4 separate regions of the Homo sapiens genome follow, and regions 2, 3 and 4 are each linked to region 1. Evidence: promoter capture Hi-C in human tissues and cell types (Jung and others, 2019). All regions are on one chromosome and are shown on one strand. The core of a region is centred on a gene start or on the middle of the fragment in contact, and the rest is flanking DNA. Distances in the headings are between cores, read along the strand shown.

Region 1 (6,723 bases), core at 92-2,591:
ATACTCAATATATGGTAGCCATATTATTATAATTGTAATTGTTACTACCACCACTGTCGTCTATTTATTTATTTATTTATTTATTTTTTTGAGACTGAGTCTTGCTCTGTTGCCCAGGCTGGAGTGCAGTGGCACCATCTTGGCTCACTGCAACCTCCGCCTCCCAGGTTCAAGCAATTCTCATGCCTCAGCCTCCTGAGTAGCTGGGATTACAGGTGTGTGCCAAAACATCTGGCTAATTTTTTTTTTTTTTTTTTTTTTGGTAGAGACGGGGTTTCGCCATGTTGGCCAGGCTGGTCTTGAACTCCTGGCCTCAAGTGATCTGCCTGCTTCGGCCTCTGAAAGTGTTGGGATTACAGGCATGAACCACCACGCCTGGCCTGTCATCCCTTCAAATGTTCTTTCAGAACTGAGGCATGCAGAGGCTGGAAGACAGGCTGGGCTCACCGGGGTGGTTATCTCTGAGAGAGGACATGGGTGAGGTCAGAGGCCTCTCCCTGGAGAAGGAGGTAGGTGGAGAAGCCAGATGGCATCCAGATAAGGAAGACCAGCATCTCCTTGAGAGTGTACACGGGAGCACGAGATGGGGAGGGAGGCTGAGTGCTCCTTACAGGCCCACCCTGTTGCCTCCAGGTGTTAGCTGCTGTTGTCCTGGGTCTTCAGTGTTGACCGTCGCATGGCATTTGGGCAGCTGGTTCTGCTGGGTTATGGTCCTCATGTCCCTGGCACAGACACAGCCATTGCCTGCTGGCACTTGATACCTACTCATATTCCATTTCTCTATTCCAAACACACTGGATTGCATGGCCCAGGGCGCCACGGTGTGCACCATTGTCTGGCCCACACTCACCTAGAATACATACCAGGATCTCCTACCCACTCCTTAGGTACAAGAAGAAGAAGGGGTTCTGGCCGGGCATGGTGGCTCACACCTGTAATCCCAGCACTTTGAGAGGCCGAGGTGGGTGGGTCACAAGGTCAGGAGATTGAGACCATCCTGGCTAACACGGTGAAACCCCGTCTCTACTAAAAAACACACACAAAAAAATTAGCTGGGCGTGGTGGCAGGCACCTGTAGTCCCAGCTACTCGGGAGGCTGAGGCAGGAGAATGGCGTGAACTTGGGAGGCGGAGCTTGCAGTGAGCCGAGATTGCGCCATTGCACTCCAGCCTCGGCGATAGAGCAAGACTCCGTCTCAAAAAAAAAAAAAAAAGGGGGGTTCTGGCCTTAATCTGCCTCCAGCTCAGTTATAAGGTGGCTTATCTAAAGGCTTGGGAGGTGGGGCACCCAGCCCTACCCACCCGTCCAGGAAGTTCCACACCTGGACAACTTTCAGTTTCATTATTTTAGCTTCCTGAGATTCAGAGGCCAGGAACTGTGCAGAGATCTGTGGGGATTCTCACAACTTCCATTTCTGGTGAACAGCTGAGGTCAGAGAGGAGGTGGGTACCACTTGAGATGGGCCTGTGGTTCCCGGGTACTGTCTTTCCAGACACCTAGAATTCCCAGGTTGGTAGTGAACTGAGAGTCAACCACCATGATGGGGCCAGAGACAGAGGAGGAAGCAGTGAGTGGATAAGTGCCTGTGCTGGGCAGAAGGGATATAGGGGAAGGTGGCCAAAGGTAGGATGGGGAAGTGGATCCCAGGAAGCTTTTGTTTCTTCTGAGGCCAATTTACCACCACCTCATTGGGAAATTGTTGGTAGGGAGGCACCCATCCAATTGCCTTGCAGAATACAGCAAGGCAGGGAGCCCAAGAATCAGAGCCAAGGGAAGAAACGACCAGTTGAGGTTAGTAATGTGAAGTCTGGCAACCGTGCCCGTCATTCCTCCCTGGTTCCTCTGTTCATCAACGTTGGGGCTAGTCTGGCTGGGGCATGGTGGGCCTGCCTTTCCATCCCTTGGGCCCCTTGGAACAAGGGGGCAACTCTGCTGTGGGAGATGTAGAAAATGGGTCTCACTTTCTCTATTTGGGGCAATAGCTGCTACTTTTTTCCTCCAGATGGGTACCATGAGGGGCAGAGGAGAATCTGGGATCTGTGATGTTTAGCCCTCTTTACTGAGTCATGGCTGCCTCACGTTCTAGAAGTAAGGCAGGCAAATCATTCCAGGTACTGATTGTCCTGGAACCTTTGGCTCTTCCTTGACCTCATGTCACGTGCGTCCATGTGAAGAGAGTCCACGAAACGGGCTTTATATGAGCAACAAGGCTGGGTGCAGGCAAGCTGAGTCCAAAAAAGGGGTCAGCAAAGGGTGGTGGCATTATCATTAGTTCTTATATGTTTGGGATAGGCTTACAAAGTACATTCTCAAGGGTGGAGAAATATTACAAAGTACCTTCTTAAGGGCAGGGGAGAATATTACAAAGTACCTTCTTAAGGGCGGCGGCGGGGAGACTATATTGTATCAGGGTGGGGCAGGAACAAATCACAATGGTGGAATGTCATCAGTTAAGGCTATTTTCATTTCTTTTGTGGATCTTCAGTTGCTTCAGGCCATCTGGATGTATACATGCAGGTCACAGGGAATATGATGGCTTAGCTTGGGTTCAGAGGCCTGACACCTCAGGCTGCCAAATGTGGAAGATTTAAATACTTGAACCAATACCCTCCTCCCAAAAACTGAAATTGGCTTCTGTTTCTGAGTTGGTCCAGGCGCAATGTTCAGCGTATTTGAGGAAATCACAAGAATTGTAGTTAAGGAGATGGATGCTGGAGGGGATATGATTGCCGTTAGAAGCCTTGTTGATGCTGATAGATTCCGCTGCTTCCATCTGGTGGGGGAGAAGAGAACTTTCTTTGGATGCCGGCACTACACAACAGGCCTCACCCTGATGGACATTCTGGACACAGATGGGGACAAGTGGTTAGATGAACTGGATTCTGGGCTCCAAGGTCAGTATAAGGTAGATGACAGGTGGCCAGCCAGGAGGCCTTGACCGTTTGTACTCCATCTCCTTCTCAATTCCCCATTGTTATCAACCAATCAACAACGAAACTGTGGGATTTGTACACATCCACACACCTTAATTTAAGAAATGCACGGAAGAGCTGCATGGTGGGAGGAGAGTGGGAGAAGTGGAGATTTATTTCCACTGGAAACCGTTCCTAAATGGTCTTCCTTTTCCATTTTTTCCCTTGTAAAATAATCTGCTTTTAATTTAGCGAGCTCTTCTCATGTGTTTATCATTTAAATGAATAAGTAAATGAGGGCAGTTTGCTTACTGGTTAAGAAAGGATGCAGGCTTTAGGGCTGGAAGCACCTGGTTTCAAAGCCTGGCTCTGCCTCTTATCAGCTGCGTAACCTTTGGACAAGTTGTTTTATTGCTCTAAGTTTCAGTTTCCTCCTGTGTCAACTCTAGAGGACTGTTGTAAGAATCAAGTGAGGGATGGGTGCGGTGGCTCACTCCTGTAATCCCAGCACTTTGGGAGGCCGAGGTGGGCGGATCACGAGGTCAGGAGATCGAGACCATCCTGGCTAACACAGTGAAACCCCGTCTCTGCTTAAAAAAAAAAAATACAAAAAATTAGCCAGGCGTGGTGGCATGCGCCTGTAGTCCTGGCTACTCAGGAGGCTGAGGCAAGAGAATTGCTTGAACCCGGGAGGTGCAGGTTGCCGTGAGCTGAGATCACGCCACTGCACTCCAGCCTGGGAGACAAAGCAAGCCTCTGTCTCAAAAAAAAAAAAAAAAAAAATCAAATGAGAACAAATTACGTGAATCATTTATCACAGTGCCTGCCACAAAAGGAGCACCCAATAAAAGTTATCTCCCAGGTCGGTGGTGATTCTTATTATCCTTTCATGTTCCTTGGCTATCAAGACTGAAGGGGAAGTTTCTGATGAGCAGAAATCCCTAAGGTATTGAGGGAATTTATGGAAGAGTCAATTATTCCAACCCCCTGCCTCTGATCTCAGTTATTCCTGGGGTACTTGGGTTTCAGAAGCCCCAGGGTTAAGTGTTGAACTCTCACTTGGAGCCCAAAGTGGAATATGGTGAGGAGTTCATTATATTTCATAATGTGAAAAAATATTTCATAATATGAACAATAGCAAGGCGCTCATAGCTCAGACCTCTCTGATACAGTCCATTTCTTTTTATGAGGTCTCATGCCAAGAGACGGAAAAGAGCTCTAACAGCCCTGAGCAGCTTTAGAGTATTACAGTGTGCCAGGAACTGCTTTAAGTGACCAAGAGCAGTACCCAGATTACTTGGAGGTGGTGGACCTTTCCACAAGCAGAGTTTCGTTAAGCAAGCAAGGGGCTTTTGGAGAAATTTCAGATTCGCATCTTTCAAAGACTGAGTCAATTCTCTGAAAAGTAAATTGCTAAGAGCCAATTTGCTAAAAGTCAGCTCTCAAAAAAAAAAAAAAAAATCAGTTTGCCAAATGATCAATTCACTGAAAATGGAAAAATACTTTAACCCAGAACTAGGATGTTTTGCCACAATAATATTACTCCCCAGGGACAGGGCAAAGTTTAAGTCTGGGAAAAAAAAATTGACTAAGTCAGTCAACTTCCTTTAAGGAAAAGCTCATCTGTGTGCATACAAAATTCGGAGGCAGAGGTGAAACCAAACTTAAAAAGAAAATCCTTACAATGATGGGAATTGGTAATTTGAATTGATTTTTAGCTTGGTCTGCTCCCTATTTAAATGGGTTATTTTGTAACTGTATAATGCTGATGGTGCAGTTAAAGTGTGCATAGGGCTGGGCACAGTGGCTCGCGCCTGTAATCCCAGCACTTTGGGAGACTGAGGCGGGTGGATCACTTGAGGTCAGGAGTTCAAGTCTGGCCTGGCCAACATGGCGAAACCCTGTCTCTACTAAAAATACAAAAATTAGCTGGGCATGATGGCGCATGCCTGTAATCCCAGCACTTTGGGAGGCTGAGGCGGGCGGATCACTTGAGGCCAGGAGTTCGAGACCAGCCTGGCCAACATGGCAAAACCCTGTCTTTACTAAAAATACAAAAATTAGCTGGGCGTGGTGTCGCATGCCTGTAATCCCAGCTACTCGGGAGGCTGAGGCAGGAGAATTGCTTGAACCTGGGAGGTGGAGGTTGCACAGTGAGCCATGATTATACCACTGCACTCCAGCCTGGCGACAAAGCAAGACTCCGTCTCAAAAAAAAACAAAAAAAAAAGTGTGCATAGGATTTTGTGTTTGTTATTAAAGTCCATACTTTATTCACATTAACTTTTTTTTTTTTTTTTTTGAGATGGAGTGTCGCTCTATTGCCCAGGCTGGAGAGCAGTGGCGCGATCTCGGCTCACTGCAACCTTCACCTCTAGGTTCAAGTGGTTCTCCTGCCTCAGCCTCCCGAGTAGCTGGGATTATAGGTGCCTGCCACCACACCTGGCAAATTTTTTGTATTTTTAGTAGAGACAAGGTTTCACCATGTTGGCCAGGCTGGTCTTGAACTCCTGACCTCAGGTGATCCGCCCGCCTTGGCCTCCCAAAGTGCTGGGATTACAGGTGTGAGCCGCTGCACCCAGCCCATGTTATCTTAGTTTTGACCTAGTGTCCTTTTTCTATTCCAGAATCCCATCCAGGATCCTACATTACATTTCGTTGTCATGTCTCCTTAGGCTCCTCTTGGCTGTGACAGTTTCTCAGACTTTACCTGTTTGGGATAATCTTAGCAGTTTTGAGCAGTACTGGTCAGGGATACTGTAGAACGTCCCTCTGTTGGAATTTGGCTGATGTTTTTTCTCATGGTTAGACTGGGTTCTGGGTCTCGGGGAGGAAGACCACAGAGGTAAAGGACCATTCCTATTACATCACATCAGGGGTACGTACTGTCAACATGACCTATCACTGTTGATGTTGACCTTGATCACTTGGCTGAGGTAATGTTTGTCAGGTTTCTCTACCAGAAGTTACTCTTTTTCCTCTTCTTCATATAGTACTCTTTGTGCACATAGTTTTTATTTTTCTTTTTCTCTCTGATATTTTTCTTTTCTTTTACACTGCTCAAGAAGCAAATGGTCCCTAAGACATTAGTGTCTCATGTACACACAAATAGTGATTTCAGTCACTGTTTCTAATTCTGTCACATTTCCACCAGTTCCAAAATGGATTTGTCTTTGGAAATCCAGCCCTGCCTCCAAAACCTAGCAGTGGGAGCTCTCCCTCCCCTGTAGGTTCCCATCTGGGAGGTTGGAGACAAAGGCACGCAGCCCCTTCGGCATGCCCACACATCCTCCACGAACCTGGGGTGGCAACTGACTCAGAACCAAGGCCCTTATTAGTGCCTGATCAATCAGGGCCGAGTCCATGCGTGTTTGTGACTTTCCAGGGTTGCCTCACTTCATACTTGTGTGGTTCATACAAACAACAGCGACAGAACTGCTTTTATTGGAGATGGAGTCTCGCTGTCGCCCAGGCTGGAGTGCAGTGGCTTGATCTTGGCTCACTGCAGTCTTTGCTTCTGCCTCCCAGGTTCAAGCGATTCTCCTGCCTCGGCCTCCCAAGTAGCTGGAATTACAGGCATGTGCCACCACCCCCGACTAATTTGGTAGAGATGGGGTTTCACCATGTTGGCCAGGTTGGTCTCCAACTCCTGACCTCAAGTGATCTACCCACCTCAGCCTCCCAAAGTGCTGGGATTACAGGCGTGAGCCACCCCACCGTGCCCACCCAGAACTGCTTAATTTTTATTTCCCAATTGGCTGGGGCTCCTACTTCTTTAGCTTTACTTTTCTTTGTCTTGTTTCAGCCTACA
Region 2 (7,199 bases), core at 3,464-5,963, 380 kb before region 1:
GGTTGAAAATCAAGGGGAGGCCAGAGGGCACACCTTCTCCCCTTACGGAACACACCTCTTCTAAGAGGAAGACCTGCACTGTTTGTAGCTTAAGAGAAGGTATCTTAGAAAGTACCTTATCTTTTCAGGAAGAACCTGAGATCACAACTTGCCCCAAGTTAAAAAGAGGGACATCAAAGGTGGGCTCCTCCCTAAACCCTTGCCTACAGACCCAGCTTCTGGCCAATCTAGCCACACTGAGTGACATCCAGACAGGCAGCCCTCTTCACAGCCTGTAGATAAGACTCTTCCCCTCATAGCCAAAGCGTCCCACCAGCAACATGGAAGTTGCCTCAAGCAAAATGCCACTACATCAGAGGGAGTGATTGGAATGCATCTGTGAGGCTAATAAATGCTCCAAAACTGTGCCAAGACACATTTTGTAAGACAGAGCACCCTTCTTATGCAGGGGCCTGCTCCACCTCTGTGCAAAAGTACCACCAACGTTTACCTTCAGCTTAGAACTGTTCTCACCACTGAGGGAAAGGCAGTATCTTATTTGGTTCACTTATCTGTTAAACAACTATTGAGTACCTACCAGGTATTAGGCACTATACTAATTGCTAGGCACAGATACAAATGTAAATAAAATTTCAATCTTGGATCTCTTTTGTCCTCCCTCAGCAGTCAAGGTAACACGTCTCAAGATATTTAAAAAATATATAACCGGCCAGGCATGGTGGCTCAAGCCTCTAATCCCAGCACTTTGGGAGGCCGAGGCGGGCGGATCACGAGGTCAAGAGATCGAGATCATCCTGGCTAACACAGTGAAACCCCATCTTTACTAAAAATACAAAAAAATTAGCCGGGCATGGTGGCGGGTGCCTGTAATCCCAGCTACTCAGGATGAGGCAGGAGAATGGTGTGAACCCGGGAGGCGGAGCTTGCAGTGAACAGAGATCGCGCCACTGCTCCAGCCTGGGTGACAGAGCAAGACACCATCTAAAAAAAAAATATATATATATATATATATAAATAATATGTATATAATATATAATATGTATATTATATATAATATACATTATATATATAAAATATATATAATATGTATATAATATATATATAAAACCTAAATCACATCTTATTCCCAACTTCTCATTCTTATTGGTGTATCTGCTTTCTGTCTTTTATAGAGACAGGGTCTCGCTCTGTCACCCAGGATGTAATGCAGTGGTGTGATCATAGCCCATGCCGAGTTGAACTCCTGGGCTCAAAGCATCCTCCCATCTCAGCTTCCCAAGTAGCTAGGACTACAGGTGCATGCCACCATGCCCAGCTGATTTTTAAGATTTTTTTGGTAGAGAAGGGTAAGGGGGTCTCACTATATTGCCCAAGCTGGTCTCAAGCTCCTGACTTCAAGTAATCCTCCCGCTGCTGCCTCCTCCCAAAGTGTTGGCATTACAGGCATGAGCCACCACACCTGGCTTGATGTATATTCAAAGGGACACTTAGTAAAGGTAGGGAGCAATGCAAAAGAGGGGGCGCAGAGAGAATAAGGCTCTGCCAACTTTTTGATCTCTGGGTAGCTTAGACCTCACACATTTTTTTTTTTTTTTTGAGACAGAGTCTCACTCTGTCACCCAGGCTGGAGTACAGTGGCATGATCTCATCTCACTGCAACCTCCACCTCCCAGGCTCAAGCAATTCTCCTGTCTCAGCCTCCCAAGTAGCTGTGATTATAGGTGTGTACCATGGCACCCAGTGAATTTTTGTACTTTTAGTAGAGACAGGGTTTCGCCATGTTGGCCAGACTGGTCTTGCACTCCTGACCCTTAAGTGATCAGCCCGCCTTGGCCCCACAAAGTGCTGGGATTACAGGCATGAGCCATCACACCCAGCATTTTTTTTTTTCCTTTTTGAGACAGTCTCATTCTGCTGCCCAAGCTGGAGTGCAATGGCACGATCTCGGCTCACTGCAACCTCTGCCTCCCAGGTTGAAGCGATTCTCCTGCCTCAGCCTCCCAGTAGCTGGAATTACAGGAACACACCACAATGCCTGGCTAATTTATTTTAGTAGAGACAGGGTTTCGCCATGTTGGCCAGACTGGTCTCAAACTCCTGACCTCAGGTGATCCGCCCGCCTCGGCCTCCCAAAGTGCTGGATTACAGGCGTGAGCCACCACCCCCAGCCTGGACCTCACACATTCTTGCAGAGTTAGCTAGCCACAGGCAAGTCTCCATTGAGCCAGAAACATCTGTGGCAGCTCTGGGGTTGAAACACACAATTTATTTTGTCTATGCTCTTTCCATGGCAACACCCAACACTCTATGGAAGCTTAATCAGCTTCCTTGGGGTGGGGGAGAGAGATAAACCAGGATATAGACACACACTCCATCACCTTCAAAAGGAAGAATGTAGGTCAGCATCTTTGCCACTACTCTAAGTGAAGCAGCCTATGATCCTGGCAAAAACTGCTAACCACAAGCCCATCCCATCCCATCCCACTAAAACTCCTACCACCTTCCTGAAGCTCTCAGCTTCAGGGAGAAAAGCCAGCAAGGAAAGGGCTTTCTTCCTCAGCAGTCTGAATTACACTTAAGACTTTACTGACAAACATATATCAGCTTTTGCTCCCACAAGGGCAGCAGAAGCCAAGCAGGGACACTAAGTCTGCTTCATGCATCATTGACAGAACCAACCCTGTTCCAACTGCTAAAGTCTTAAGAGCAGCAATGACCTAGAAATTGACAGTGAGGGGAGAAGAAAAGGAAACTAACAAATCAGTAGACAGAAAACTCTATTTCCAAAACCAGGGGAAAGGGAAAGATAGAGGGGAAAGAAATTTGGCCCCTTTGAATCTACCAATGTGATTTTGGCTGGAAGCCAGGGAGGATACATAGCAGCCCCACTGCGAGTCAAGCCATGTTCCTGACTCAAGCCCTACAGTTAAGAGGAAGGCGCCAAGCCTCAAACACAATGAGGTGGGGAGGCTGCTCCTTATTGGGCAGGATCCTACTGTGGACACAGAACAGACAGCAGCTGCCCACAGTGTGGAAACAAACTGTAAAGCAGTCACGTCTCTTAAGGCTGCAGCATCCAATAAAATGTAATTTAAATCAAGCTTCGCATCTGTTCTCAATCCCATTCAGTCTCTGCTTTCCATCAGCCTTCGGACAATCTTTGCAATTATGCATGTTAACCCTTATAGTCCCAGACACTTTCCAACCTTCTAGGTATAGAACTGTGTTTCCATGTTCAAACTACCTTCAGAGGGAACGAATACTCTAGTAAAGGAGTGTGAGAACAACATTCAGACTCATGCCTACAGACTATCATGTGCTACACACACCAGTGGGTAGTGTTCATTTCAGAGGGCTCTCTCTGCTTTCCTTGCCTCTATCCCATACCACCTGTTGTAGCTCAGATCACATTACACGGATACAGTGGTCAGGATGAATGAAACAGTGGCCAACAGATCACTTGTACACATATCAAGTTCCAAATGGAAGGCCATGTCAGAAAGGTAGAGGCGGCAGCAGGAGAGCTCAGGGAAAAGCAGACTTGGTCACTGGCTCTCAGATCATTCGTATCACACATGGTTTACATTTCAAGCATTTGCTTCAGTTATGAAAGGACAGCAATCTCCCAAACAAATCAAACTAGAACTTCCCCCTTTCCCTCAAAACTACCTCAGCCTCAAGCATCCCCTTTCAAAGTAGTCAATGTTATAAGGGTGCCCTCTGGTGTCTCAGTCACAAATTGCCATTTAATGCCACCAAACCAAACCCAGAAGGCTCTTGATTAACCAACCATATGGACTAATTTATCTAATAAGACTGGAAAAATGTGTTTAGATGAAAACCCAACCCCAAAGTAGTCATCTTGAAACAAGTGGCTTCATCTAAGGGCAGCAAAGACTGTGGGACAGCCTAGGAAGGAATTTTCACATTGACTTCTGAAAGCTTGAGCTCTCTTGAAATCTGATTGCTTAAAAAGACAAAGAATGCAACTTGAAAATAAATATATTCACAATCTGTAGAGTTATAGTCTCCTTATGACCCCAACGCCCTTGGGAGTGCCCAAGAAACTCAACGAGTCTAAAATGCCACAATGTTGTAGTATCTGCACCATGAACATAGTATACTATACAAAGAAATAAATTCTTTAACCAGTGTCCTCCAAATCTCCATGTGGACTTGCTTGCATTTTTCTGGATCATTTTCATTCTTCTTACCCTAAACTTAAAGTTCTTAACAAAATACCTTAATGGCTGAGCATGGTGGCTCACGCCTATAATCCCAGCACTTAGGGAGGCCAAGGTGGGCAGATCACTTGAGGGTCAGGAGTTCAAGACCAGCCTGGCCAACATGGTAAAACCCTGTCTCTACTAAAAATTAAAAAATTAGCTGGGCGCGGTGGTGGGCACCTGTAATCCCAGCTACTCGGGAGGCTGAGGCAAGAGAATCACTTCAACCTGGGAAGCGGGTGCTGTAGTGAGCAGAGAACGCGCCATTGCACTCCAGCCTGGGCAACAGGGTGAGACGCGCCTCAAAAACAACAACAACAAAAAAAACAAACAAAAAAATACCCACTCATGTTTGAGCAAACGAAGAGGTAAATATACACACATTCCTCTACACAGATCTGTACACTTGCAAGCACATTGGCTAGAGATACACAAGTGGTAGAAGTAGTGAATGTAATTAAAAAGGGTCTACCTGGTCACTTTTATGGGTAAAAATAGTAAGACCCAAAGATATTATTCTGTGCTAATATTAAAGAATCTATAGATTAAAATTCATTGGCTTCAAGTAAAAAAGGTCATATTTGTTTTCAGGCCCGAATGTGTAAAGCACTAAAATGAAGACTGTAGCTCTCTAAATGCCAGCTGAATACTTTCGGGTGGGGTGTAAGAGAAGAATTTAAGGCAATCCAGTAGCTAAGATATTTCCAATTAAAGCTTTATCTTTCAGAGCATGTTCTATTTCTTTCTCTTCAATCTTGAAAAACACCTGGAAAGAAGAGAAAAGGATTTTTCACACTGGGGAACTCACAAAAGCAAAGTTGTCAGTATACAAACTTCTACCATATTAAACTTTTTCTCACAAAAGGCAAGCAAGTTAAACACTTTTTTTTCCAATGGCTTGAAAAAATATTCATATCACACTCCCATCTTTACACACCTTAAACCTTACCTAACAAAAAACGACTTGTTTAACTAACTGTGGTCATCTTGTTTAACAATAAACCTTTACTTTAGCATCACTCTACAAAATAGGACAATTAAAAACACTGTCACAAAAAAGCAGTTGTACCTTTGTCAAACGGGTTTCCTTGTTTCTCTTTAATCCTAAAATGCCCCTGGCTTCCAAGAGCCCTGAAAGTGACAAACACTCTGACTGGTCCACAGCCGCCACCTGCTGTTTGCGACAGACTTTACTGTAGGCTTCATATAACTGGTAGGAAACAAGGGAGAACAAACGCTGCTTAAAAGTCACATTGCTTATAGCCTTTAATCATTTAAGAAACCTGAGTCTGGGTTTGCAAAAACTTATCTGAATACCCTATTTCTTCCTCTTTTCAATAAAATCTTTGAACAGGCTTCTGTAGATATTCCCGAAAACCTATACAGTAATGTAGGAAAGGGGCTTTATATATTTCCTAGAGAGATGCAGAAATGAAGGGGAGGATAGGGAAAGGATTAATGATAAACTCTCAACCACAATCCAAGGGAAATAGGTGCCTTTTATATAGTACCAGTATTAATTCTTACTGTTAAAATCCATTTTAAATTTATTATCAGCTGAAGTATCATAGGCCTTTTGGAAAATACCTGCTCTGCAAAGCAGATTCTGATCTCTACCTCCGTTCCATCTGCTCCATCCCAACTTACCTTCCCCAGAGTGACCTCTTTGATTTTCAACTGCCTGATCAAGAGCATCAAAGAGCAAACCAAGATCTTCTGCTGAAGAGGGAAGGAATCTTGTGCTCCTTCTTGGCTCAAGGTCATCCTGTTACCATCAACTTCTGAGATGACTTGGGATATGTGAATAAGACCAACCCTCTTGGGAATCAGAGGCTCAGAAGGTGATTTACCTATAAAGTAAATAAGCCAAGCTTAATTCGATTTCTAAAATACTGTGTGTGTGTATGTATGATGAGACAGATGATACTAAGTTTGAGCTAAAGGAAATTCAAGTATAGTCACATGGTGGCAAAGCAGAGGTTTTAAATCTCTAACCAGAGGCCAAAGGATGAGAGATAATGCTATTCTCTTAAGGATGTCAAAATAATGTGGGATGACTTGAAAAGTAGGGTTACCCTTTCTCTGGGCCAAATAGTGAGCTGTTTTGTCCTATGGAATGTAATTTAATGTCAGAGGAACAAAACCCACCTCATGAAAGGACCAGAGAACTACTGTATTTTTTTTTGGGACAGGATCTCTGTCACTCAGGCTGGAGTACAGTGGCACTATCATGGCTCACTGCAGCCTTGGCTTCCTGGGTTCAAGTGATCCTCCTGCCTCAGCCTCCTGTGTAGCTAGGATTACAGGTACGTGCCACCATGCCAGGCTAGTTCCTAGTATCTCAGAGGTATAGAATAACAGAACCTTGAAGCAAAGATGGTGACTGTGCTTGGTAATTAAGAAAGGAAAAAAAAGGCCAGGTGCAGTGGCTCACGCCTGTAATCCCAGCACTTTGGGAGATCAAGGCGGGCAGATCACCTGAGGTCAGGAGTTGGAGACCAGCCTGCCCAACACGGCGAAACTCCATCTCTACTAAAAATACAAAAAATTAGCTGGATGTGGTGGCAGGCGCCTGTAATCCCAGCTACTTGGGAGGTTGAGGCAGAAGAATCACTTGAACCCGGGAGGCAGAGGTGCAGTGAGCCAAGATTGTGCCACTGCACTCCAGCCTGGACGACAAGAGTGAAACTCCATATAAAAAAAAAAGAAAGGGAAAAAAAAGTTGGAAAATTACCGAATATTTTGGATCAAATGAGTGGCTAAATGTGGAGAGTGAAGTCGCTGCCATGTCAGCCCTTCAGATGGCTTCCCCAAATGACCTTTGAGGTTTGGTTCACTTGCCCAAGCTGATTAGCAGTAGAGCAACACTTGAGAAAATGTCATTGGATATGCTAGCAGATAGCACCATCTTTTTTTTTTTTTTTTTCTTTTTGGTATTTTTTGTAGAGATGGGGTTTCATCATGTTGCCCAGG
Region 3 (7,070 bases), core at 3,010-5,509, 470 kb after region 1:
GAGGTCGAAAGGTGAGGCCGGGAGCAGTGACTCACACCTGTAATCCCAGCGCTTTGGGAGGCTGCGGCTGGAGGATCCCTGGAGCCCAGGAGTTCGCGACCAGCCTGGGCAACATACTGAGGCCCTGTCTCTACAAAAAAAATAAAAAAATTGCCGGGCACTGTGGCTCACGCGTGTAATCCCAGCACTTTGGGAGGTTGAGGCGGGTGGATCACCTGAGGTTGGGAGATCGAGACCAGCCTGACCAACATGGAGAAAACCCGTCTCTACTAGAAATACAAAATTAGCCGGGCGTGGTGGTGAATGCCTGTAATCCCAGCTACCTGGGAGGCTGAGGTGGGAGGATTGCTTCAACCCAGGAGGTGGAGGTTGTGGTGAGCCAAGACTGCGCCATTGCATTCCTACCTGGGCTACAAGAGCGAAACTTCGTCTCAAAAAAAAAAAAAAAAAAAAAAGGCCGGGTGTGGTGGCTCACTCCTGTAATCCCAGCACTTTGGGAGGCTGAGGTGGGCGGATCACCTGAGGTTAGGAGTTCAAGACCAGACTGGCTAACATGGTGAAACCCTTTCTCTACTAAAAATACAAAATTAGCCAGGCACAGTGGCATGCCTGCAATCCCAGCTACTTGGTAGGCTGAGGCAGGAGAATCACCCAAACCCGGGAGGTGGAGGTTGCAGTGAGCCAAGATAGTGCCACTGGACTCCAGTCTGGGCAACAAGAGCAAAACTCCGTCTCAAAAAAAAAAAAAAAGAAAAAAAATTGAAAATAAATAAAATAAAAAATTAGCTCCAGGTAGTGGCTCAAGGCTGTAATCCCAGCACCTTGGGAGGCCGAAGCGGGCGAATCACTTGAGCCCACAAGTTGGAGACCAGCCTAGACAACCTGGCAAAAGCCTGTCTCTACAACAGATACAAAAATTAGCTAGGCATGGTGGCACAAGCCAGTAGTCCCAGCTACTTGGGAGGCTGAGGTGGGAGGATTACCTGAATCCTGTAGGTCAAGGCTCCAGTGAGCCAGAATCATGCCACTGCACTGTAACCTGGGCGACAGAGCGAGACCCTGTTTCAAGGGAAAATTAGCTATAGTCTCAGCTACTCTGAAGGCTGAGCTGGGAGGATCACTTGATCCTGGAGCATGGGAGGTTGAGGCTGCAATAGGCCTTGATTGTGCCAGTGCACTCAAGCTGGGGCTACAGAGTGATACTCTGTCTTAAAAAAAAAAAAGAAAAGAAAGATGTACTCCTTGGGTGCAAGGAGACAACAAGTGTAAAAATGGAAACTTCATGAAGTAGGAGTTTTTGTCTAGTTTGTTCATTGCTGTCTTTTTAGCATTTTCATTTATTTATTTATTTATTTGAGACAGAGTTTTGCTCTTGTTGCCCAGGTTGGAGTGCAGTGGCGCAATCTGGGCTCACTGCAACCTCCGCCTCCTGGGTTCAAGTGATTCTCCTGCCTCAGCCTTCCGAGTAGCTGGGATTACAGGCATGTACCACCAAGCCCGGCTAATTTTGTATTTTTAGTAGAGATGGGGTTTCTCCGTGTTGGTCAGGCTGGTCTCGAATTCCCAACCTCAGGTGATCCACCCGCCTTGGCCTCCCAAAGTGCTGGGATTACAGGCGTGAGCCACTCCGCCCAGCCAGCATTTTCATTTATTTTTTTTCTTTTTTTTAAATTTTCCTCTCTAGCCCAGTTCAATAACTTTTTTTTTTTTTTTTTTGACACAATGTCTCCCTCTGTTGCCTAGGATGGAGTAAGTGGTGTGATCAAGGCTCATCACTGAAGCTTCGACCTCCCAGGCTGAGGTGATCCTTCTGCCTCAGCCTCCAGAGTAGCTGGGGACTGACTACAGGCACATGCCAGGAGGCTTGGCTAATTTTTTTCTTTCTTTTTTTTTTTGAGACAGTGTTTCGCTCTGTTGCCCATGCTGGAGTGCAATAGTGTGATCTCGGCTCACTGCAACCTCTGCCTCCTGGATTCAAGCAATTCTCCTCCCTTAGCCTCCCAAGTAGCTGGGATTACAGGCATGCACCACCACATCTGGCTAATTTTGTATTTTCGGTAGAGACAGGGTTTGACACTCCAGCCTGGTCATCAAGAGTGAAACTTAGTCTTTAAAAAAAAAAAAAAAAAGGTGGATAGATAACAGTCCAGTGGTATGGTATTCCTTACATCAGACCCATAACTTGTGTGTCATCTTGCCATTAAAAATGTCTTCTTTGGATGTTTTGAAGTAAAATGATTTTGGAAAATATTTTAACTGAATTCTTACTGTGATGAAGTGTGGGAATTTATTTTGCAAGGAAAACTGTGGATGGTCTTGATAGAACAGTTACTGATAACGTTTTCTGATTTAAATCATAGAGTCAGAAAAGCTGAGTAAGATGAGTTCTCTCCTGGAACGGCTCCATGCAAAATTTAACCAAAATAGACCCTGGAGTGAAACCATTAAGCTTGTGCGTCAAGTCATGGTAAGGATTGTGGTGAAGTGGGTAAAGTGTTTTGCTTAGATAATTATTCTTAATACGCTAAGCTCCCCATGTAGATGTGTTCATACTATCTTCATAAAACATCTGAATACATGGTGGTTTCAACTTTAGGAGTCTATTGTATCTATACTACAGGTTGAATATCCCTTATATGAAATGCTTGGGACCGGAAGTGTTTTAGATTTTGGATTGTTTTGGATTTTGGAATATTTGCAAATATATAATGAGATATCTTGGGGATGGGACCCAAGTCTAAACACATAATTTATTTATGTTTCATAAACACCTTATAGATATAGCCTGAAGGTAATTTTATACAACATATTTAATAATATATTTAATACTTTTGTGTGTGAAACTAAGTTTTTTTTTGTTTTTTTTTTTTATTGAGACGGAGTTTCACTCTTGTTGCCCAGGCTGGGTTGTAATAGCCCGATCTCGGCTCACTGCAACCTCTGCCTCCCAGGTTCAAGTGATTCTTCTGCCTCAGCCTCCCGAATAGCTGGGATTACAGGCATGCGCCACCACGCCCAGCTAATTTTTATATTATTTGTAGAGACGGGGTTTCTCCATGTTGGTCAGGCTGGTCTTGACCTCCAGACCTCAGGTGATCCACCTGCCTTCGCCTCCCAAAGTGCTGGGATTACAGGCGTGAGCCACCGCGTCCAGCCGTTTTGACTGCATTTTGACTATGACCCTGTTATGTGAGGTCAGGTGTGAAATCCTTGGTGGCATCATTGGGAATGCTAAAAAGGTTTTGGATTTGGGAGCATTTCAGATTTTTGATTTTCAGATTAGGTATGCCCAGCCTGTACTAGTAGAATTTTTGATTCATTCTTTTTTTTGAGACCAGGTCTTATCATCCAGGCTCAAGTGCAGTGGCGCGATCATGGCTCACTGCAGCTTCAACTTCCCAGGCTCAGGTGGTTCTCCCACCTCAGCCTCCTAGTATCTGGAACAACAGGTGCATGTAACCATGTCCAGCTAGTTTTTTTTTTTTTTTCTTTGAGATGGAGTCTTGCTCTGTGGCCAGGCTGGAGTGCAATGGTGCGATCTCGGCTCACTGCAACCTCTGCCTCTTAGGTTCAAGAGATTCCCCTGCGTCAGCCTCCCGAGTAGCCGGGACTACAGGCACACGCCACCACGCCTGGCTAATTTTTTGTATTTTAGTAGAGATGGGGTTTCACCATGTTGGTCAGGATGGTCTCCATCTCCTGACCTCGTGATCTGCCTCCCAAAGTGCTGGGATTACAGGCGTGAGCCACTGTGCCCGGCTGCCCAGCTAGTTTTTTATATTTTTTGTAGAAATCGTTTTTTTTTTTTTTTTTTTGAGATGGAGTGTCGCTTTGTCACCCAGGCTGGAGTGCAGTGGTGCGATCTCGGCTCACTGCAAGCTTTGCCTCCCGGGTTCATGCCGTTCTCCTGCCTCAGCCTCCCGAGTAGCTGGGACTACAGGCCCCTGCCACTATTCCCGGCTAACTTTTTGTATTTTTAGTAGAGACGGGGTTTCACCGTGTTAGCCAGGATGGTCTCGATCTCCTGACCTCGTGATCCACCCGTCTCGGCCTCTCAAAGTGCTGGGATTACAGGCGTAGCCACTGCGCTTAGCCAGAAATAGGTTTTTACTCTGTGGCTCAGGCTGGTCTCAAACTTGTGGGCTCAAGTGATCCACCCACTTTGGCCTCCCAAAGTGTTAGGATTACAGTGTGAGCCACCGTGCCTGGCGGATTCATTTTTTTTTTTTTTTTTTAAAGATGGAATCTCTGTCTGTCACCTAGGCTGGAGTGCAGTGGTGGGATCTTGGCTCACTGCATCCTCCGCCTCCTGGGTTCAAGCGATTCTCCTGCCCCAGCCTCCTGAGTAGCTGGTATTACAGGCATCCGCCACCATGCCCAGTTAATTTTTGTATTTTTAGTAGAGATGGGGTTTCACCATGTTAGCCAGGCTGGTCTTGAACTCCTGACCTTGTGATCCACCTGCCTCAGCCTCCCAAAGTGCTGTGATTACGGGTGTGAGCCCCTGTGCCTGGCCCAGGTTGTCATTTTTATTCCTTAAGGCAACCAAATTCTAGCTTGAAATATGTTCTGTAAATGATACTGTCATTAGAGAGACATTGTGAGATAGAAGGATTCCAGGTGGCTAATAAGGCCCTCTCTTTGGGTACCACTCTCTTGGTTTGGTCACCATGACTTTGCTTGTCTACTTTTCAGTTTTGCAGATTCAGAAACCTAATTTTATTGGTACATCAAGATTTTATAGAGTTTTCATGGCTGGGCGTGGTGGTTCACATCTGTAATCCCAGCACTTTGGGAGGCTGAGGCGGGTCGATCACCTGAGGTCAGGAGTTCGAGACCAGGCTGACCAACAAGGTAAAACCCTGTCTCTACTAAAAAGACAAAATTAGCTGGGCATAGTGGCAGGCGCCTGTAGTCCCAGCTACTCGGGAGGCTGAGACAGCAGAACCGCTTGAACCCGGGAGGTGGAGGTTGCAGTGAGCCAAGATCATGCTACTGCACTCCAGTCTGGGCATCGGAGCGAGACTCCATCTCAAAAAAAAAAAAAGAGTTTTCAACAACTGACATACTGTATGCTTATTTATTAATTTATGACAAAACATTTAGTTTTCCAGTTTTCATAATACTGGTATTCATTGACCAGAGCACCTCTTCTCCTGTCAAGAATCAAGAGATTTCAGATTATTAATAAATTACTTTGTTTTGTAAGGGAGAATTAGAGCAGTGAGATAGATTTATTTGCAACATGGAAAAGCCTGGAAAACTATCCTTATACCAGAAAACTGTTCACGTTTTTAGGGACTGGAATGTTTTTCAGAGAGAAACTTCTTCACTGGATAGGGTTAGGAAAACTAGGCTAAGTTTTTTTTTGTTTGTTTGTTTGTTTTGTTTTGTTTGAGATGGAGTCTCACTCTGTCACCAAGGTTGGAGTGCAATGGTGTGGTCTTGGCTCACTGCAACCTCTGCATCCCCGGGTCAAGCGATTCTCCTGCCTCAGCCTCCTGAGTAGCTGGGACTACAGGCGCGTACCACCACACCTGGCTAATTTTTGTATTTTTAGTAGAGATGGGGTTTCACTATGTTGGCCAGGCTGGTCTCGAACTCCTGACCTCATGATCTGCTCGCCTTGGCCTCCCAAAGTGCTGGGATTACAGGCGTGAGCCACTGCAACCGGCCTCAAACTAGGCTAAGTTTTTGTTCTTTGGAAGTCCCTTTTCTGGACTACATGTTCTGTTTCTTTTCTTTTTCTTTTTTTTTTTGAGACAGAGTCTCTCTCTGTCGCCAGGCTGGAGTGCAGTGGTGTGATCTCGGCTCACTGCAACCTCCGCCTCCTGGGTTCAAGTGATTCTCCTGCCTCAGCCTGCTGAGTAGCTGGGACTATAGGCGTGCACCACCACGCCCAGATAATTTTTGTATTTTTAGTAGAGACGGGGTTTCACCATTTTGGCCAGGATGGTCTCAGTCTCTTGACCTCGTGATCCACCCGCCTTGACCTCCCAAAGTGCTGGGATTACAGGTGTGAGCCACCGCACCCAGCCTATATGTTCTGTTTTTTAGAGTCAATCTCATTTTCTTAAAATTTGGTTGTGTTTCTCAGATTACATGCAAATCACCTTGTTAAATTTGTACACTACCAAATCTCCTGAGCCATCTTATTTAACTGTTTATATCTTAGCATGTGGTCACTTCCACAGGCGGCAGATCTCATGTATTACATTTTGATTCTTCCTAATATTTCTCTAAAGGTTTTTTTGTTTTAGATGTGGAAATACAACGTTTTCTTTTTTGTTTTTGACTAAATAGAAACAGGATCTCTCTATCTTGCCTTGGCTGGTCTCGAACTCCTGGACTCAAGTGATTATTCAGCTTTGGCCTCTCAGTGTGCTAGAATTACAGGCATGAGCCACGTGCCTGGCTGAGGAATACCTTTTTCTACACTCATATATATGGATTTTGCATGGATGGACAGAGTAACACTTGTAGACCAGTGTTACTCTATATAGTCTACAAAATCTATAGACTATATTGAGTCTATAGACTGTCCTGCAATATTACTACTAGGATAATGTGTATGTTTACCTAAAACACTGTTGGCCTGGTTAATTTTCACCTCAAATGTTTTCCCACTTGACACAGGAGAAGAGGGTTGTGATGAGTTCTGGAGGGCATCAACATTTGGTCAGCTGTTTGGAGACATTGCAGAAGGCTCTCAAAGGTTTGTGAACACTTTTGAAATATGCTGATTTCACAAAACCCCCAGTTCAAGAAGGACCATTTTATACTTAAACTAGAAGTAAAAAATTGAGGTAGGTCAACTTTATGTATTAGATATTGCTCTTGCATTCATTTATGGAGTTGGAATGATCTTTTTGCTAAAGTTTGAAACATTTATTTTTGATCCTGTTTTGGAGGCTGATAGAGATTTAAAAGATAAATGATGAAGGGTAATATAAGATACCTGGGGAGGCTGGGTGCGGTGGCTCGCTCCTGTAATCCCAGCACTTTGGGAGGCTGAGGTGGGCGGATCACAAGGTCAGGAGTTTGAGACCAGCCTGGCCAACATGGTGAAA
Region 4 (6,231 bases), core at 1,223-3,722, 280 kb before region 1:
CTCCACCTCCCGGGTTCACGTCATTCTCCTGCTTCAGCCTCCCGAGTTGCTGGGACTACAGGCGCCCGCCACCAGACCCGGCTAATTTTTTTTGTGTTTTTAGTAGAGACGGGGTTTCACCGTGTTAGCCAGGATGGTCTCGATTTCCTGTCCTCGTGATTCGCCCGCCTCAGCCTCCCAAAGTGCTGGGATTACAGGCATGAGCCACCGTGCCCAGCCTATTTTTACTTCTATCCCCGTAGATTAATTTAGCCTGCTCTTGAACTTTTTTTTTTTTTTTTTGAGATGGAGTCTGGCTCTGTTGCCCAGGCTGGAGTGCAGTGGTGCCATCCCAGCTCACCACAACCTCCGCCTCCCAGGTTCAAGCGATTCTCCTGCCTCAGCCTCCCTAGTAGCTGGGATTACAGGCATGCGCCACCATACCCAGTTAATTTTGTGTTTTTAGTAGAGACAGGGTTTCTCCGTCTTGGTCAGGCTGGCCTTGAACTCCCAATCTCAGGTGATCCACTCGCGTTGGCCTCCCAAAGTGCTGGGATTACAGGTGTGAGCCACCGTGCCCGGCCTAAATTTTTTTTTTTTTTTGAGATGGAGTCTCGCTCTGTCGTCCAGGCTGGAGTGCAGTGGCACCATCTCGGCTCACTGCAAGGTCCCCCTCCCGGTTTCACGCCATTCTCCTGCCTCAGCCTCCGGAGTAGCTGGGACTACAGGCGCCCACCACCACGCCGGGCTACTTTTTTGTATTTTTAGTAGAGACGGGGTTTCACCCTGGTAGCCAGGATGGTCTCGATCTCCTGACCTCGTGATCCGCCCGCCTCCGCCTCCCAAAGTGCTGGGATTACAGGCGTGAGCCACCGCGCCCAGCCTTTTTTTTCTTTAGACTGAGTCTTGTTCTGTCGCTGTCGCCGGGCTGGAGTGCAGTGGCGCAATCTCAGCTCACTCCAAACTCTCCCTCCCGGGTTCAAGCGATTCCCCTGCCTCAGCCTCCCAAGTAGCTGGGATTACAGGCGCACGCCACCACACCCAGCTAATTTTTTTGTATTTTAGTAGAAACAGGATTTCACCATGTTGGCCAAGATGGTCTCACTCTCCTAACCTCGTGATCCACCCGCCTCGGCCTCCCAAAGTGCTGGGATTACAGGCGTGAGCCACCGTGCCCGGCCTTTTTTTCTTTTTCTTTTTTTTTTTTAAGAGAAAGAGTCTCACTCTGTCACCCAGGCTGGAGTACAGTGGTGCAATCATAGCTCTCTGCAGCCTTGAACTCCTGGGCTTAAACAATCCTTCCACCTCAGCCTCCTGAGTAGCTGGGACTACACACATGCACCACTATGCTTGGCTTTTTTTTTTTCTTTTTTTGAGACACGGTCTCCCTCTTTCGCCCATGCTGGAATACAGTGGCATGATCTCTGCTCACTGCAGCCTTGAGCTCCCAGGCTCAAGCAATCCTCCCACCCCAGCTTACCAAGTAGCTGAGACTACAGGAATGCACCACCATATATGGCTTTTTTTTTTTTTTTTTTTGAGACGGAGTCTCACTCTGTCGCCCAGGCTGGAGTGCAGTAGCACGATCTCGGCTCACTGCAACCTCTGCCTCCCGGGTTCAAGCAATTATCTGCCTCAGCCTTCTGAGTAGCTGGGATTACATAGGTGCCTGCCACCATGCCCAGCTCACTTTTGTATTTTTTAGTAGACATGGTGTTTCACCATCTTGGCCAGGCTGGTCTTGCACTCCTGACCTCGTGATCCATAGGTCTCAGCCTCCCAAAGTGTTGGGATTACAGGCGTGAGCCACCCTGCCCAGCCTTTTTTTTTTTTTTGAGATGGAGTTTTGCTCTTGTTACCCAGGCTGGAGTGCAATGGCACGCTCTCAGCTCACCACAACCTCTGCCTCCCAGGTTCAAGCGATTCTCCTGCCTCAGCCTCCCGAGTAGCTGGGATTACAGGCATGTGCCACCACGCCCAGCTAATTTTGTATTTTTAGTGGAGACAGTTTCTCCATGCTGGTCAGCTGGTCTCAAACTTCCGACCTCAGGTGATCCACCCACCTCGGCCTCCCAAATGCTGGGATTACAGGCATGAGCCACCGCACCTGGCCTATTTTTTTATTTTTTTGTAGAGACAAGGTCTCCCTATGTTGCCTGAGCTGGTCTCAAACTCCTGGACTCAAGGGATTCTCCTGCCTCAACCTCCCAAAGTGCTGGGATTACAGGCGCGACACACCATGCCCAGCTACATTTTTTATTTTTTGTAGAGATAGGGGTCTCACTATGTTGGCCAGGCTGGTCTTGAACTCCTGGGCTTAAGAGATCCTCCTGTGTCCAGAACTGGTTCCTTCCAGTGGGTTCTTAGTCTTGCTGACTTCAAGAATGAAGCTTCAAGAATGATGCCACAGACCCTCACGGTGAGTGTTAGCTCTTAAAGATGGTGTGTCCGGAGTTTGTTCCTTCAGGTGTTCAGATGTGTCCAGTTTCTTCCTTCTGGTGGGTTCGTCCTCTCCCTGACTTCAGGAATGAAGCCACAGACCTTCAGCAGTGAGTGTTACAGCTCTTAAAGGTGGCGCTTCTGGAGTTGTTTGTTCCTCCCAGTGGGTTCGTAGTCTCGCTGGCTTCAAGAGTGAAGCTGCAGACCTTTGTGGTAAGTGCTACAGCTCATATAGTGCGGACCAAAAGAGTGAGCAGCAGCAAGATTTATTGCAAAGAGCAAAAGAACAAAGCTCCCACAGCGTGGAAGGGGACCCCAGTGGGTTGCCGCTACTGGCTCGGGTGGCCTGGCCCCACCCACATCCTGCTGATTGGTCCATTTTACAGAGCGCTGATTGGTCCATTTTACAGAATGCTGATTAGTCCGTTTTACAGAGTGCTGATTGGTTCGTTTTTACAGAGTGCTGATTGGTGCATTTACAAACCTTTAGCTAGACACAGAGCACTGATTGCTGCATTTACAAACCTTTAGCTAGACACAGAGCACTGATTGGTGCATTTACAAACCTTTAGCTAGACACACAGCGCTGATTGGTGCTTTTACAATCCTTTAGCTAGACAGAAAAGTTCTCCAAGTCCCCTACCTGATTAGCTAGACACAGAGCACTGATTGGTGCATTTACAATCCTTTAGCTAGACAGAAAACTTCTCCAAGTCCCCACCTGACCCAGAAGCCCAGCCAGCTTCACCTCTCACTCCTACTTCAGGCCCCCAAAGTGCTGGGATTAGAGGTGTGAGCCAACATACCCAGCCTGTGTCTGGCTTCCTTTATTCAACATTAAGTCTGTGAGATTCATTCACGTGGGTATTAATAATTTGTTCTTTTTTCTTGCTATATAGTATTCCACCATAAGAATATGCCCCAATGCATTTGTCCATTCATGTGTTGAAAGACACTGGGTTTTTTTCCTTCCTTCCTTCCTTCCTTCTTTCCTTCCTCCCTCCCTCTCTCCCTCCCTCTGTCCCTCCCTCCCTCCTTCCCTTGCTCTCCTTTCTTTTTTTTTTTTTTTTTAAACAGGGTCTCACTCTGTTGCTCAGGCTATAGTACAGTGGTGCTATCGCAGCTCACTGCAGCCTCGTTAATTTTTTATTTTTTGTAGAGACAGGGTCTCACTATGTTGCCCAAGCTGGTCTTGAACTCCTGGGCTCAAGCGATCCTCCTGCCTCAGCCTCCCGAAGTGCTAGGATTATGGGCTTGAGCCACCATGCCCAGCGTGATTGGTGTTTCTGAAAGAACACCCTGGCTGCCATGTGGAAATCAAACTGGTGGCAGGTAGGGGTGGATCAAAGAGAGGAAGCTGACAGACCAGGTAGGAGGCTGCAGTAGTCATGCAGGGAAGCTATGAAGGTGGTTTGGACTAGTATGGTCATAGGGGAGTCATACAGAAGTGGATCACTCAGAAAATGCTCTGGAATTGTAGCCGATGGGACTGGCTGAGATGAATGAAGGGTGGGAGAAAGAGGCACCAATGGTGAGTCCTGTATTTTTGCCTTGAAAACTTGGGTAGGTGGCTGGGCAGTGGCTCACAGCTGTAATCCCAGCACTTTGGAAGACTGAGGTGGGTGGATCACTTGAGGTCAGGAGTTTGAGACCAACCTGACCAACATGGTGAAACCCCATCTCTACTAAAAATACAAAAATTAGCCGGGTGTGGTGGCCTCTGCCTATAATCCCAGCTACTCAGGAGGCTGAGGCAGGAGGATCACTTGAACCTGGGAGGCAGAGGTTGCAGTGAGCCAAGATTACGCCACTGCACTCCAGCTTGGGCAACAGAGAGAGAAAACCTGGGTGGATGAGAGGATCATTTTTCTGAGATGCAGAAGACTGAGGCAGAAACAGATGTGAATGGGGATTATCAAGGGCCCAGGTATAGCTATTTGAGTGTATGATGTCTCCTGGAACTCAGGCTATCATTTAAGCCTAACGCTAGGCTCTCTGCACCCTATAATCTTAGTAGGATTGGGCCAGGCGCAGTGGCTCAAGCCTGTAATCCCAGCACTTTGGGAGGCCGAGGTGGGCAGATCACGAGGTCAGGAGATCCAGACCATCCTGGCTAACACAGTGAAACCTCATCTCTACTAAAAATATTAAAAAAAAAATTAGCCCGGCATGGTGGTGGGCACCTGTAGTCCCAGCTACTTGGGAGGCTGAGGCAGGAGAATGGCATGAACCTGGGAGGCAGAGCTTGCAGTGAGCAGACATCACGCCACTGCACTCCAGCCTGGGCAACAGAGCAAGACTCCGTCTCAAAAAAAACAAAACAAAACAAAACTTAGTAGAACTGGTAAATATTGGTTGTGTGAACAGTACATGCTGTCTTCAGGGGACAGACCTGGGTTAGGGGACCAGTGCCCTCACTAGTAATTATTCTGGGACTGCTGTGCCTCAATCTTCTACCTTAGCATTAGAATTAAATGTGATCTCATATTTATGCCACCTGGAACATGTATGAACGAAAACATCCCATCCCCTCTTCTGAGTTCCAGGCATTATGTGACATGTCTTGTGAGGTTGGCATCTTTTCCTCTCATCCACATTTTCTTTTTTGGCAGAGTCTTGCTCTGTTGCCCAGGCTGGAGAGCCACTGCGCCTTGCAACCTCCGCCTCCTGAGTTCAAGCTACTCTCCTGACTCAGCCTCCCAAGTAGCTGGGATTACAGGCATGCACCACCACACCTGGCTAATTTTTGTATTTTTAGTAGAGACAGGGTTTCACCATGTTGGCCAGGCTGGTCTCGAACTCCCGCCCTCAGGTGATCTGCCCGCCTCGGCCTCCCAAAGTGCTGGGATTACAAGCATGAGCCACTGTACCCCGCCACCCACATTTTCAAAGTCACTCCAGAACAGCCCTGCTCCTGACAGCACTGGGCGGCCATCCCCTCTCCCCTCCCTCAGCACTTCCACAGCCTCAAAGAAAACAGAATGGAGAACAACAGGCAGGTTGATTCATAGACTTTATCGGCTTCTTCTCCACCCAGCGGTTTCTGCAATGACAACCGCGCCTGTACAATACACATGGTTCACTCTGTTAAAGCTGCAGGGCAACGGGAGGGGGCTGGGGGTCCCTGGGCAGGCATCAAGGCTAGGGGTAAGCAGCAGCCAAGACTGGGCCAGTGGGTCCCAGTGTCCGACCCAGAGGGTGGTGGCAGCTGGAGTTCCAAGGCTGTTGGAAGGGGTCAGGAGGAAGGCTGGGAAGCCAGGGGCTGCAGGGAGAGGAGAGTGCATCAGCAGTAGCAGGGAGGGGGCAGGGAGCAGAAGGGGGCCCATGGGACACTGTCAGGGCAAGAGGGCATGGGACACAGCACCTCCTATGTCCATAGAGGATTTTTGCTGCAGGAACAAGACAGATCACTGTATAAAAGGGTCTGTACAACATTACCTATGATACAATGTTCACATATGATACAAGGCTCTTTCCCTCTTTGAGTTTTAAAAAATAAATGTACAATTCCAGAGCTTTGGGTAAAAAATATATACACCCTCATAGCAGGAGCAGCAGCTGCTTTTGCTACGGCTGTTGCTGTCTCTTCAAAAGGGAAAGAGGTGGTGCCAGAAAGAAGGGTGAGTCTGTGCCAGGAAACCTCACCCAGTAGCTGCCAGGAGCCCCTGCACCCCTCAGGCCTTGAGGCTGGTGATGGGAGAGGGAGGGGAGTAAAGGTAATAAAGGCCTTGCCAGAGTCCAGTGGCGCCTTTACAGTCTCTGCCATCCCCCTCCCCCACTTTGGGGCTGCCTGCCCCAGGTATAGGGATCCAC

What was found. Contacts are between HindIII fragments. The study calls those that stand out against the background at their distance.
Region 2: a fragment that was not itself captured here is called in contact with the fragment with the promoter of GSDMB in region 1 in 1 of the 25 tissues and cell types used here (spleen).
Region 3: a contact is called between a fragment that was not itself captured here and the fragment with the promoter of GSDMB in region 1, in 1 of the 25 tissues and cell types used here (dorsolateral prefrontal cortex).
Region 4: a fragment that was not itself captured here is called in contact with the fragment with the promoter of GSDMB in region 1 in 1 of the 25 tissues and cell types used here (spleen).

What each region holds. Positions count from the first base shown.
Region 1 is chr17:39,913,253-39,919,975 of GRCh38, reverse strand. GSDMB (gasdermin B) reads left to right here and starts at 1,341. Exons shown (of 11, transcript NM_001165958.2): 1 at 1,341-1,442; 2 at 2,646-2,894. The coding sequence starts at 2,660. RefSeq lists a cis regulatory region at 1,075-1,088, promoters at 1,067-1,429, 2,153-2,561, 2,112-2,741 and an enhancer at 3,293-3,782. The HindIII fragment of the contact is 12,682 bases long and covers 1-6,723 here.
Region 2 is chr17:40,299,705-40,306,903 of GRCh38, reverse strand. It overlaps CDC6 (cell division cycle 6), which reads right to left. Exons shown (of 12, transcript NM_001254.4): 10 at 5,874-6,076; 11 at 5,296-5,436; 12 at 2,247-4,992. The coding sequence ends at 4,903. Among named protein-coding and RNA genes, the nearest start is that of RARA, 5.9 kb to the left of the region's middle. The HindIII fragment of the contact is 4,009 bases long and covers 2,709-6,717 here.
Region 3 is chr17:39,443,195-39,450,264 of GRCh38, reverse strand. MED1 (mediator complex subunit 1) reads left to right here. Exons shown (of 17, transcript NM_004774.4): 2 at 2,361-2,467; 3 at 6,637-6,715. Among named protein-coding and RNA genes, the nearest start is that of MED1, 4.5 kb to the left of the region's middle. The HindIII fragment of the contact is 4,288 bases long and covers 2,116-6,403 here.
Region 4 is chr17:40,194,838-40,201,068 of GRCh38, reverse strand. It overlaps RAPGEFL1 (Rap guanine nucleotide exchange factor like 1), which reads right to left. Exons shown (of 15, transcript NM_016339.6): 15 at 5,419-6,231. Among named protein-coding and RNA genes, the nearest start is that of MIR6867, 4.4 kb to the right of the region's middle. RefSeq lists an enhancer at 6,126-6,231. The HindIII fragment of the contact is 6,151 bases long and covers 1-5,547 here.